Regions from separate parts of the Homo sapiens genome. Here region 1 is linked to region 2. The links are contacts of gene promoters, found by promoter capture Hi-C in human tissues and cell types (Jung and others, 2019). All regions are on one chromosome and are shown on one strand. Each heading gives the region's core, a stretch centred on a gene start or on the middle of the fragment in contact. The rest is flanking DNA. Distances are from core to core; before and after follow the strand shown. Region 1 overlaps CACNA1C (calcium voltage-gated channel subunit alpha1 C). Region 2 holds the start of LRTM2 (leucine rich repeat transmembrane protein 2).

Region 1 (6,010 bases), core at 3,374-5,873, 440 kb before region 2:
ATCTTGCCCAGGCTGATCTAATTCCTAGGCTCAAGCAATCTTCCTGCTGCTGCCTCCTAAAGTGCTGGGATTAACCAGTGAGAGCCACAGTACTCAGCCCATACTTCTCTTTTTTCCCCAGATTGTGTCAGCCAAGTCAGGCCAAAATGTGCCCCCCACAGCAGGGAATTAGTGACCATGTGGAGGTGCAGGATGTCGGTCTTCCTTCTGATGGTTTGGGACTGCTGGACCCAGGCTGCCAGGCAAGCTGGTTTCTCCTGCACACCAGTGTGCAGTCTGGTGGATGCTGGTGGGGAGAGGGGGATTCTCTGAGCATGACCATGAGAACACCCAAGAAAGCGGGACTTAGCTCACAAAGCTATTACTAGTGCTTTCTGTCACCCAGGCTGGAGTGCAGAAGTACAGTTCTAGCTCACTGCAGCCTCCACCTCCTGGGCTCAAGCAATTCTCCCACCTCAGCCTCCCAAGTAGCTAGGACCAAAGGCACGTGCCACCATGCCTGGCTAATTATTTTACTTTTTTAGTAGAGACCAGGTCTTGCTACATTGCCCAGGCTGTAATGCACTCATTCTTACTGATAAAATGAAAAACAAAACAAAACGTATAGCTCCTGCTCTGCATTACATTAAGAAAGCTACACACTTAGATCTGATACAATGCTTAGTCTAATAATGACAGGCTGTCTCCGGGCCAAAAAAATAAGTCGTCCCCAACCACTTCCTCCTGTCAAAAGACACTGGAAAATTCTGCCCTGCTCTTAGCTCCCCCTTGCAACATCTCAAAGCGGCTCTGCTTCTTAAAGAGGCAACTTACTTCTGGTCTCCTGAGGTTTGTTTTGTTCTTTTTTTCTTTTTTTGATAAAGACATTAATTTTCCTCATTAGCATTTTGAATTCACTCAGGGATGTTTTAACTACTTAGTTATGATCCAAATAAAGAGTGGCTTGCAGCCCCTCTCAGAGGCTGTTTTAAGCTAACCAGTCTCAAACTTCAGCATACATCACAAAAACCTGGTGGGCTTGTTAGAACACAAACTGCTGGGTCCCGTGTGGGGCAGGGCGGGGTGTGGGGAGCTTCCTTTTTGTAGAATCGGCACTTCTAGTAGGTTCCCAGGTGATTTTGATGCAGCTGGTTCAGGGCCATATTCTGAGAACCACTGCTTTAAGCTACCTTTCCTTAAATGGAAAAGAAAAACAATTAAGTGAAGGAAATATTGAGTTCCGTGATTTCCCCAGGGCCAGGTGAAAGACTTCCACTTATGAAAAGGCCTTGGTTAGGAATCATGCTGAACTCACTAGTGTAATTCCATCTCCCTCATCTATTTTTGGAATTTGAAAACACATATGTTAATTTATATTGAATTCATAATATTACTTTATTAATCCATCTCTCAAATGGATTACTTTTTAAGGGAGATTTGTGCCTTCTTCTCTCCTGAAAACTTAAATATTCATTTTAATGAGACAAAAATAACCAGAATTTGATCAGAAATATTCGGTAACTTTAAGGAGCTGATGCTCACATATCTACAATAATAAGATAGAAAATATTCAGGCGTCTTAAAATACGAGTTATCTGAAATCGAGAGGGAAGAGATTAAAGTGATGATGAAAGGGACAGTCTGGAAGGGCAGCATTGATACAGCAGAAGGGGCCCTGGATTAAATCTGGTTGGGAAACCCAGTCCCAGTTACCCCACTGAGGAGCCTTATGGGCTCGGAAAATTGGTTTTTATGGACCTCAGGTTCTACATATGCAAGATGAAGATAACACCGTCCTCCAAAGACGATGATATAATTAAATTTAGTTGTTTTATCCCACATCATTTTTTAAGAACTTGAGATTTTTAAAATTTCACATTTAAAAAAAAAACTTGAGGAAAAAATGAGTTTTCAAAAATTAATGAGTAAAATACATATTTTAAAACAATATATACCAACCAAAAACACACAGTAAAATTATTCTGACTAATCACAAATGCTGGCCTAAGTTTCCTGGCAGTTAAACTGAAGAAGGGAATTATTACATAACTCTCATTATCTCATAAATTGAGAGGCGGAAACAAGCGAATTCCTCAAAGCAATGAATGAGATCATGTGTGTGAAAGCTTCTGGCAAATAACCAGAAATAAGATGTCATTATTAAGGTTTCAGGAAGAGGTGGGATATGAGCTTTACTATGGTGGGACAGGGCAGACCCCAAACACAGCAGGTGATGAGATGTAGTACAAAGAAACTCTGCCTCCCTCTTCTCTTTCCTTTGGCTTGGTTCTCAAACCTCTGCCTACTGCAGAGTGGGAGTGCACGTGCTGAAGGCAGATTGAGGGTGCTCTTCAATCAAGTTGAGAGTGTAGCATTCACTTGTATGAAAATGCCGCTTCTGTAGGTCAAAAAATATCAGTGATTTCCTAAGGTTAAACCTAACAGTAAGACCAAGTGAAGTGGAGGCAACAGGTATAAAGAATATACCATTTCAAGGCTGTCTTTGCAGTTCTAACAGTTAGAAAAGAACATTCTGAAGACTAGAGAGTTAAACCTTAGTTTGGAACCTCACTGCTTGAGAACCTGGGAGAATCTGGAGGAGAAGAGATCAATGAAAATGCTTAAAGACTTGGAGAGGAAGGGAACACGCTAGAGCGGGGGTCCCCAGCCCCCAGGTACCGGTCCATGGCCTGTTAGGAACCAGGCTGCACAGCAGGAGATGAGCGGTGGGCAAGCCAGCATTACAGCCTGAGCTCCAGCTCCTGTCAGATCAGCAGCAGCATTAGATTCTCATGGGAGCAAACCCTATTGTGAACTGTGCATGCTGGGGATCTAGGTTGCATGCTCCTGATGAGAATCTAATGCCTGATGATCTGAAGTGGAACAATTTCATCCCAAAACCATCCCCTCTCGGTCCTCCATGGAAAAATTGTCTTCCACGAAACTGATTCCTGGTGCCAAAAAGGTTGGAGACCGCTGTGCTAGAGAAGACTGAACTGTCCCACCACAGCCTGGTCCCGTCCTCCAGGGTACTCAGCTGGACTACATTTCTCAACCTCCTTTGGAGACAGGTGTGGCCCATGGCTGACTTCTGGCCAGTGAAATGTCAGTGAAAGTGATAGTCACAACTTCCGGGCCTGGACGATCTTGGCCGCCATTACAAACAACTGTGTTCATTCCTCTGTGACTGTCTGAGTGCTGGATGTTAACACCCAGGGAGGCCTGGAAAGCCACCAACGAAGACAGCAAAGCCCTGGTCCCCTACAATATGGAGCAGAGCCACCCCCGTCCTGATTGGGTTTACATTCTGTTGTGTTGAGTCACCACGATTTTTGAGTGCAACTGTAACATATCTGGTGTAATAGAAGAATGGATAAAGGAACTGTTGTTCTCATGCCCCCTCTAAAAAAGAGATAACTAATCCATTTACTATTTTAAAAGGTAGCATGCTGGTTTCCAAACCTGGAAACACCCATCAGAATCACCTGTGGAGTGTTTTAATCAAACAGATTCCTATACTACACCCTGAATCTCCTGAATTTTTCCAGGATTTTTTTTAAGTTCTTTAGGAGTTTACAACTGATCATTAGGCTGGAATCTGAGGATGGCTAGAAAGGATGTGGCTGCAATGCTGACCTGCCGATGTCCTCATTTCTCTACCCCTGGAAACGCGCCATCTGCTTTACGTCCTGGCTCTTAATCTTGCACCATCTTCTCGTCATCTCTAACTGGTTAACTGGTGTGTTTTATCAACTCAAGAACCCTGTACGCTCATCAGGGGCCAGGATTATAGCTTTTATATTTATTTTCCAAACAGCATGAAGCTAGACAGGTAATGAAAGCTCAATCAACACATTAATTCATTTGATTTAAGCAGTTGTTTTCTTCTATACCATCAGAATAAGGGGAAAAAGGGCTTTTCTAGCAACGTAGACACAGGCTAGACTTAGCAAAACAGTTCCAATTATGTGTTTAAGTCATTTTTAAGACACCAATGTGCCCAAGGTGACTGATTACCCCATGCATTGATGGAGAAGTAACCAGTTCTCAAAATTTAATATGTGCAAGGCTGAACTATGAAGCTTGTTAAAAATGTAGATTCCTGGGCTTAGCCTCCAGGTAGTCTGATCTAGTAGCTCCAGTGTAAGGCACAGGAATTTGCATTTATGATATTCCTCCTCCTACCCCATCCCTGAGTTGTGTGCAAGTGGCAAGAAACAGGAGGTGTGATTGTAAACTAGTAAGGTCAGGATCGTGTGATTGTAAAGTAGTCAGGTCAGGATCGTGTGATTGTAAACTAGTCAGGTCAGGGTCGTGTGATTGTAAACTAGTCAGGTCAGGGTCGTGTGATTGTAAACTAGTCAGGTCAGGGTCGTGTGGTTGTAAACTAGTAAGGTCAGGGTCGTGTGATTGTAAACTAGTCAGGTCAGGGTCGTGTGATTGTAAACTAGTCAGGTCAGGATCCTGTGATTGTAAACTAGTAAGGTCAGGATCGTGTGATTGTAAACTAGTAAGGTCAGGGTCAGGTCTATTTTGTTTAATGTGATATCCGTAGGGCCAAGCATATTGCTTAACTCACAATAAAGCTTATTATCTGTCCAATGAGGAGGAATCTCATCTGACTTATCCTAAACACTGCCCTTCCTTCCAGAAAGGAAATGAACCAGGTGACCCTCCTGGTCTTCTGAAGGCCACCAGCTTACTGTCACACACTTAGTAAACTGGGAAGTGCCCCTTCTGGCTGCCTCAGCCCCATCTGCTCAGAGTTCTAATTGAAGAGGCCGACCTCCTTTGATTGGCACTGCCTTCTTGCTGTGCCAGGGACCATCTGTAGCCACCACCTCCTGGCAGTTCAGACATCTCTTCCTTCTTGCAGGCATGGATGGGCAAGGACATTAGTAAATGGACCTGGATCTAGGAGAGAGGGCCTGCCTGTCACACCCCGAATGACCCCAGGTCTGTTAGCAAACTCCACACAGGTACTGAGAACTCCCACACCTGGGGAATGGTGCTTTCCTAGTAACTAGGTTTTTTTTTTTTTTTTTTCTGCAGCAGAATGCTGAGCATCCCATAACCGTGATTTCACTGGCTCTCACAGTACCTCAGTAAAACCAGGAGGGAGCACGGGTCTGTATCCATATTTTGCAGATGGCAAACAGAGAGGAAATCTGACTTGCCCAAGGTCACACAGCAGGTCAGCCATGAAGCCAGGGAGGGTACCCAAGCTCTACGCATCCACAGCCGTGGCATCTGCAGGGCCACAGCCCCTTCACAGGGGCGGGGAATCACAGCTGCTTCCATTTAAGGCTGTTGCTCCTCAATTTTACACAGGGGTATGTGCTCTTCAGAAAGGAAATACTAAGCTAAGCTTTGCCTCTCTTCACTTAAAAGACCTTCGGGATGAATCTCTTTCAGAGACTCAACTGCCATCCAAGTGAAGAGAGGACGGGGGGATATGAAAAGATCTTTTTCTTGGCAGTGGTAATGAACCTGTAGTTCTCAAAGTGTAGATGGGACGTATCAGAATCACCCAGGCACTTTCTCAACATATATCGTCCCCCATTCACAGATTCTGCAAGTCAACCAACCCCACTTCAGCCCTGACTCCATAGCAAATCTCACAATGGAGTAGTTTGAGTGGCTTTTTTCTTTTCCCTTATCCCACGGGCAGGTGTTAACAGCAAAGGGGACAGGGGTGAGCAGTAGGAAGGGGAAGCCTGGACCCTGGACAATCCACAGCAGAGGGTGCGGAGCTGACATCCCCTGTGCCAGTTTGCCGCAGCACGATACAAAAGGTGCACAGGACACAAGAGTAATGGGGCAATCCGGGCCCACACCTTCGTTCTCATACTAAGAGGAAAACAGAAAATACAGGGTTACAGAGTTCACAGCCAACACTCAAAACAACAGACTGGAGTATGTGTCTAAGGAAGACATGAAATGGAAGGGCCACTACAGACAACTGGCGGTTGAGAAGATAAGACTCAGCCTACATCCTCCAGAAGCATACTGACAGACAGAGTCTGGGGTC
Region 2 (6,180 bases), core at 224-2,723:
GCAGCTCGGAAGCTGCTGTCGGGTTTCCCTACCAGCTGGACTTCCCCCGCCTCAGCTCCACGTGCTCGGCTCCCTCCCCGCCCCCACCTGAGGCAGTTATCTAAGCTGCAGGGGTGTCATCTGAGTCACAAAGAGACACTGCCCAAGTAGCCCTGACAGCCGGGTGCCAACACCCCCCAGAAATGTGGACAGCTTGGGGGTGGGGGAGAGACAGGGCCGCCAACTGGAACCCAGCCCCAGACCTGCAGGGAGGTGCAGGAATGTGAACTTCCGACTCCTGGTCAGGCTGCTCCTCTCTCCAGCACTGTCCAAATGGGTCTGGGGGATTGAGAGCAACTGTCCCGCTCTACTCAGGGTGTCCATGCCCCCTGTGTGGGTCAAGAAGCCAGGCAGGCCTGGCCCCGCTGTGTACCCCCCACCCAAGCTCAGTGTCCAGCCCCCACTAAGGCTCCCTGACCCATTTGCAGATGGACGGCTGGGTGCACAGCTGCGGGACACCCCAGCAGGTTCTCGCGGGCCTGGTTCTCCTGTCTTGCCCTTGGGCTAGCAGGGAAGGGCTGCGATACTTCTCTCTCCTGCCCACTCCCAGCCTCACCCTCACCAGGGAGGCTTCATGCACAGCTGAGTGGGCCCATGCTCATCTGGGGGAGGGTTCCTCCACACCCTTGTCCAAGGACAGCCACCTGCAGGCAAGCTATAGGGAGGCCCAGGACCTGGGTCTGTGCCCATGCCTCTGACATCCAGGACCTCCTCCCTGCCACCCTCCACCCCAAGCCTTCCTCTGACCTGGCCCTGTCCCCAGCACCTGACTGCCATCCCAACCGCTTCCCATGACCCCCGAGTTTCTTGGGGCTGTCTGTGCAGAGCCGGGCACAACGACAGCACAAGGCTCTTGGCTGCTTCTCCCATGCTGCAGGGACCGGTTTCTATGCCACCCGGGACTGTCATCTGGCGCCAGCGCTGCCCTCCTCCCCACTTCCCAGCAGAATCCACAGCTCTTGTCCCCAGCACTGTGGGCTCAGAGTTCCCAGTGTCGTGCACCTTTGGGATGCTCAGGTGCCTGAGCCCGAGCAGCTTCTTCGGCCCCAGCAATTGCCTGCAGGTAGGAAGCAACTGCAGCTATTCCTGCAGGGCAGAGATGGCCGGTGCCCACTTCCCATGCCCCGACCACCCCCTGTCCCCACCAACCCTCCATTCCTTCCTACCAGCCACTCGGTACTCACCCGTCTTTACTCTGACTGCAAACGCCTTCAATCAGGTGGCTCTCAACCCTCCAGTAAGACCCTCCTGGGATTCCTATAGAAATCCAGACACCACCGGCAGGCAGAGCGCAGTGGGCACTGGTGCCAGAGTCTCCACTCAGCGGGAGCAGCGGCTGGCACGCAGCACACAGCACCAGGAGGTGGACTGCTTGTGGCAGACGGGGGACGGGGCTGCTGGGTCAGTCACAAACTGAGAAGGAAAGAGAGGGATGGAGGGAGAGAGAGAGAGGAGAGAGGGAAGAAAGGGGCGAGGGAGGAGAGCGCACGCGTGTGCGCGAGCAGCGAGCCAGAGTGGAGCGGGGAGTGACAGCTGGGGTGCATCTGTGATGACAGCGGCAGCAGCACACACAGGCGCACACCAGAGGCACCACGGCCGGCCGCGAGGGCAGCGCTCACCCTGGCCACGCTCACATTTCAGTGGAAAAAGGCGCCTGTGGATGAATCGCTGCCGACCACAGGGAGGAGGAAAGCGGTTTCACCACCACCTCCATCTTCCATCCTGCGCCTCCAGGCTCTCCCTCACCCCCCCGGCTGCACCTGTCTTCTGTGCCTCTCTCCTCTCTTCCCCTCCATCTGGGGAAAGAGGGACAGGCGCAGACACAGAGCAAGCGGCTGACTTCTGTTCCGATGGAGGCCCCCCTGGGAAGCTGGTCTTTCTCCTGTTTTAGAGACATGCGAGGCAGAGTCTCCCATCCTGCCTGAGAGAAGGAAAAACCGAACCCTTCTCTCGGTCATACGAAAGAAGGGTACACAGGCATGTCCATGTGCCAGATGACCCTACAGGAAAGGGCCCTGAGCCCCCACAAAGCCAGGGATCACATGGTCATGCAGAGGTCACTGAGCCTCAGGGTCTGACCACCCGACGCCAGGACTACTTAGGGAAGCAGAATGCCAGAGTTGGCAGGCTGGGAGTTTGGGCACAGGGCAGCCTGCAGCAGCAGCCTGCAGACCGTTCTCAGTGCCAGGGACGAGCTTGGCTTCTCAGGGCTCCTTGCTCTTATCTGTGATGGGTCAGGCATGCGAAGGGAAGAGACTGTCATTCAAGAACTTGGAGGCCTCTTTCTTAACCAATCAGGACAAAGCAAGTCAGAAAAATTGATATCCTAAGAGATGGGAAGTGGCTGATCTGAAGGCCAAGTGAGTCAGGGACCAAGCTAGAGGGGAGCCAGGGCCCCACCAGCCTGGAGCACGAACCCTAAATCCCCCTTCCTTTGCGTCCACTGCCTGTAGACAGATGAAGCACCGTGCTAGCGATATATCACCGTGTCCTATGTCCCTCTTCCATTTTGCCTGCTTTGCTGGAGGGGTTCACAGCCAGGACTGGGGTGGGTGTAGAAGAACCCCCTGGACTCAGGATGCCCCTAGAAGGATGCTCCTGCTCACTCCCTTCTGTCCGTTCTGCCGGGTCCCCGGGCAGCACAAGGCTTGAGCTGCAGTGTCTTTTACCTCTGGGGAGTCCCGCCTCTGACCTCTCATGCTGGTGCCTCCCACACATCCCACTGTCAAGCAAAAGAGGCTCCCACCTCCCCATAAACATACTTCCTGCTTCTCCATCTCCATGAAAGCGTGTTCTTCCCTGGGCCTGAAATGCTCTCCTGCCCATGGGTGGCTTCCCCCTTCCTTAAACGCCCCCTGCAAGGTGACGTTTCCCCGGAACACCACAGGACTGGCCCTGCTCCTCCTCCGATCTCTGGCATTCTCTTTGGGCCACCCTCATGTTGTGCAGGAGCTTTCTGTGGTCTGCTTCATCTCCTTTCCTTTTTTTTTTTTTTTTAATTTTTTTAGTATTTATTGATCATTCTTGGGTGTTTCTCGGAGAGGGGGATTTGGCAGGGTCATAGGACAATAGTGGAGGGAAGGTCAGCAGATAAACATGTGAACAAAGGTCTCTGGTTTTCCTAGGCAGAGGGCCCTGCCGCCTTCCGCAGTGTTTGTGTCCCTGGGTACTTGAGATTAGGGAGTGGTGATGACTCTTTTTTTTTTTTTTTAATTTATTTATTTATTTTTTATTGATCATTCTTGGGTGTTTCTCGCAGAGGGGGATTTGGCAGGGTCATAGGACAATAGTGGAGGGAAGGTCAGCAGATAAACAAGTGAACAAAGGTCTCTGGTTTTCCTAGGCAGAGGACCCTGCGGCCTTCCGCAGTGTTTGTGTCCCTGGGTACTTGAGATTAGGGAGTGGTGATGACTTTTAACGAGCATGCTGCCTTCAAGCATCTGTTTAACAAAGCACATCTTGCACCGCCCTTAATCCATTTAACCCTGAGTGGACACAGCACATGTTTCAGTGAGCACAGGGTTGGGAGTAAGGTCACAGATCAACAGGATCCCAAGACAGAGGAATTTTTCTTAGTGCAGAACAAAATGAAAAGTCTCCCATGTCTACTTCTTTCTACACAGACACGGCAACCATCCGATTTCTCAATCTTTTCCCCACCTTTCCCGCCTTTCTATTCCACAAAGCCACCATTGTCATCCTGGCCCGTTCTCAATGAGCTGTTGGGCACACCTCCCAGACTGGGTGGTGGCCGGGCAGAGGGGCTCCTCACTTCCCAGTAGGGGCGGCCGGGCGGAGACGCTCCTCACTTCTCAGACGGGGCGGCTGCCGGGCGGAGGGGCTCCTCACTTCCCAGACGGGGTCGCGGCCGGGAAGAGACGCTCCTCACATCCCAGACGGGGCGGTGGGGCAGAGGCGCTCCCCACATCTCAGACGATGGGCGGCCGGGCAGAGACGCTCCTCACTTCCTAGATGGGATGGCGGCCGGGCAGAGGCGCTCCTCACTTCCCAGACTGGGCAGCCAGACAGAGAGGCTCCTCACATCCCAGACGATGGGCGGCCAGGCGGAGACGCTCCTCACTTCCCAGACGGGGTGGTGGCCGGGCAGAGGCTGCAATCTCGGCACTTTGGGAGGCCAAGGCAGGCGGCTGGGAGGTGGAGGTTGTAGCGAGCCGAGATCACGCCACTGCACTCCAGCCTGGGCACCATTGAGCACTGAGTGAACCAGACTCCGTCTGCAATCCCGGCACCTCGGGAGGCCGAGGCTGGCGGATCACTCGCGGTTAGGAGCTGGAGACCAGCCCGGCCAACACAGCGAAACCCCGTCTCCACCAAAAAAATATGAAAACCAGTCAGGCGTGGCGGCGCACGCCTGCAATCGCAGGCACTTGGCAGGCTGAGGCAGGAGAATCAGGCAGGGAGGTTGCAGTGAGCCGAGATGGCAGCAGTACAGTCCAGCTTCGGCTCGGCATCAGAGGGAGACCGGGGAAAGAGAGGGAGAGGGAGACCGTGGGGAGAGGGGAGAGGGGAGAGGGAGTCATCTCCTTTCCTACACAGAGCTGTTCAAGCAGGGGGACTGGCCTCACCTGTTCCGTGTCCTTCAGGCCCCAGTGCCTTCGTGTCAACTGAGTGAGGAATGGAGGACATGAAAGAGCTCAAGACTGGGCATCAGGGGACCCAGACTCCAGACTCTGTTGCTCAGTGACTAGCTAGCTAGTGAGTTCACTCAGCAGCCCTGGGCCTTGTGCTGGCTGGGATTCCTGCCCTGCAGAATGAGGAGATGGGTTGAGATCTCTGGTCTCCCTTCTGGCACTGGCCTTCTGTGACCTAAGTATTCGCTGTGCACCTGTCGGGTCCTCAGCTTGTGTTACAAAAGATGATCCCTCTCATGCCCCACAGTCCCTATCCCGTGCAACACGCAGTCTCCTGGTTAGGTTCTCAAGACAGAGGAGGAGGAAAGAGAAGCAGATAAAGGGCTAGGAGGGCAAAGCTGGAGCTTCTGACTCCTGGGACCACAGCACTCAACAGTGTGCAAACTCATATGTTCATGTGCATGCTATGTATGTGCATGTGTGTGTACGTATGTGTGCATGTGCATGGTGCACGTGTATATGCATGTGTGTGCAAGTGTGTGCGTATGCCTGTGTGTCCATGTGTGCGTGCATGGGTATGTGTGTGCAAGTGTGTGTGCATGCATGTGTGTCCGTGTGTGCATATATGTGTGTGTCCATGTGTGTGCATGTATGTGTGTGTGCATGCACAGTTGTTTGGTTTTGCCTTCTGTGATGACACAGCAGCACCGAGGTGACAGTCTGTGTGCACAGCAAAGACGTACATCTTGATAAGCCGCCTGCGGGTCTGGCCTTATTGAGGCTCTTTGTTAGGTTGTCTGCCAGCGGAGCTGAGCTGCGATCTTACAGGAAAGCTGCTTGGGAGGAAGGCACGAGATCAATGTGGAGAGGCAGGGCAGAGAGGGAAGGCAAGGGACAGCCCAGAGAGGGAGGACAGGAGGGAGGGAAGGGACCCAGGTCAGCTGGGGCAGGAGGCCCGCTGGGGCAGGAAGGGGTCTGAGATTTGTCCTCCTCTTTCAGGTCATGACAGGCCCTCCTGGGGACGAAGGTCAGGGTCTAAAACAGGGGCCCACCATGCACAGGCATGAGGGAAGCTTTCCTGATAACTCCCAGGAAAGCAACAGGAAAAGCCGAGTGCTTTGCATTCCCTCGGGCCCTTTGCCTGAATTTCTCTTCACCGAAAGGTGTGAGCTTGTCTGCAAACATAATATCATAAGGTGTTGTCTCCTGCACACAGCTGGCTAGCAGGAGATGATGGGAGGAAGGGCAGTCCTCCCCGCAAGTAACCACTCACCTGAACGAGCAGAGCAGGGATCCTGGGGGAGAAGACTCGGTTCCCTGGGTGTCTGGAGTGGAAAAGCACAACTTGGGTTGTGGGACTGCAGTTGACAGAAGGATTCAATATGATGCAAGCCAGGGGATGCAAGCGGTTGGGCACGGCAGAACACCGTTGACTCACTGGTAAATATATTTCCGTGCCTCACCGCCTTTACTCCCAATACTGTGTCTTGTCTTCAACATCTTATAGTTCTTGCCATAAGGAAGTTCTTCTTCATGTCTCACTTAAATC

What was found. Contacts are between HindIII fragments. The study calls those that stand out against the background at their distance.
Region 1: a fragment that was not itself captured here is called in contact with the fragment with the promoter of LRTM2 in region 2 in 4 of the 25 tissues and cell types used here (IMR-90 fibroblasts, dorsolateral prefrontal cortex, mesenchymal stem cells and 1 more).

Annotation. Positions count from the first base shown.
Region 1 is chr12:2,254,284-2,260,293 of GRCh38, reverse strand. The region is part of intron 3 of CACNA1C (calcium voltage-gated channel subunit alpha1 C); the gene reads right to left. Among named protein-coding and RNA genes, the nearest start is that of CACNA1C-IT3, 12 kb to the left of the region's middle. RefSeq lists enhancers at 3,852-4,351, 4,352-4,853. The HindIII fragment of the contact is 3,079 bases long and covers 3,084-6,010 here.
Region 2 is chr12:1,815,858-1,822,037 of GRCh38, reverse strand. LRTM2 (leucine rich repeat transmembrane protein 2) reads right to left here and starts at 1,473. Exons shown (of 5, transcript NM_001039029.3): 1 at 1,224-1,473. All of the region lies in intron 26 of CACNA2D4 (calcium voltage-gated channel auxiliary subunit alpha2delta 4), which reads left to right. LOC105369601 (a long non-coding RNA gene) reads right to left here. Exons shown (of 5, transcript XR_931546.3): 3 at 6,070-6,180; 4 at 5,905-5,956; 5 at 3,232-4,804. RefSeq lists an enhancer at 1,157-1,903. The HindIII fragment of the contact is 8,239 bases long and covers 1-6,180 here.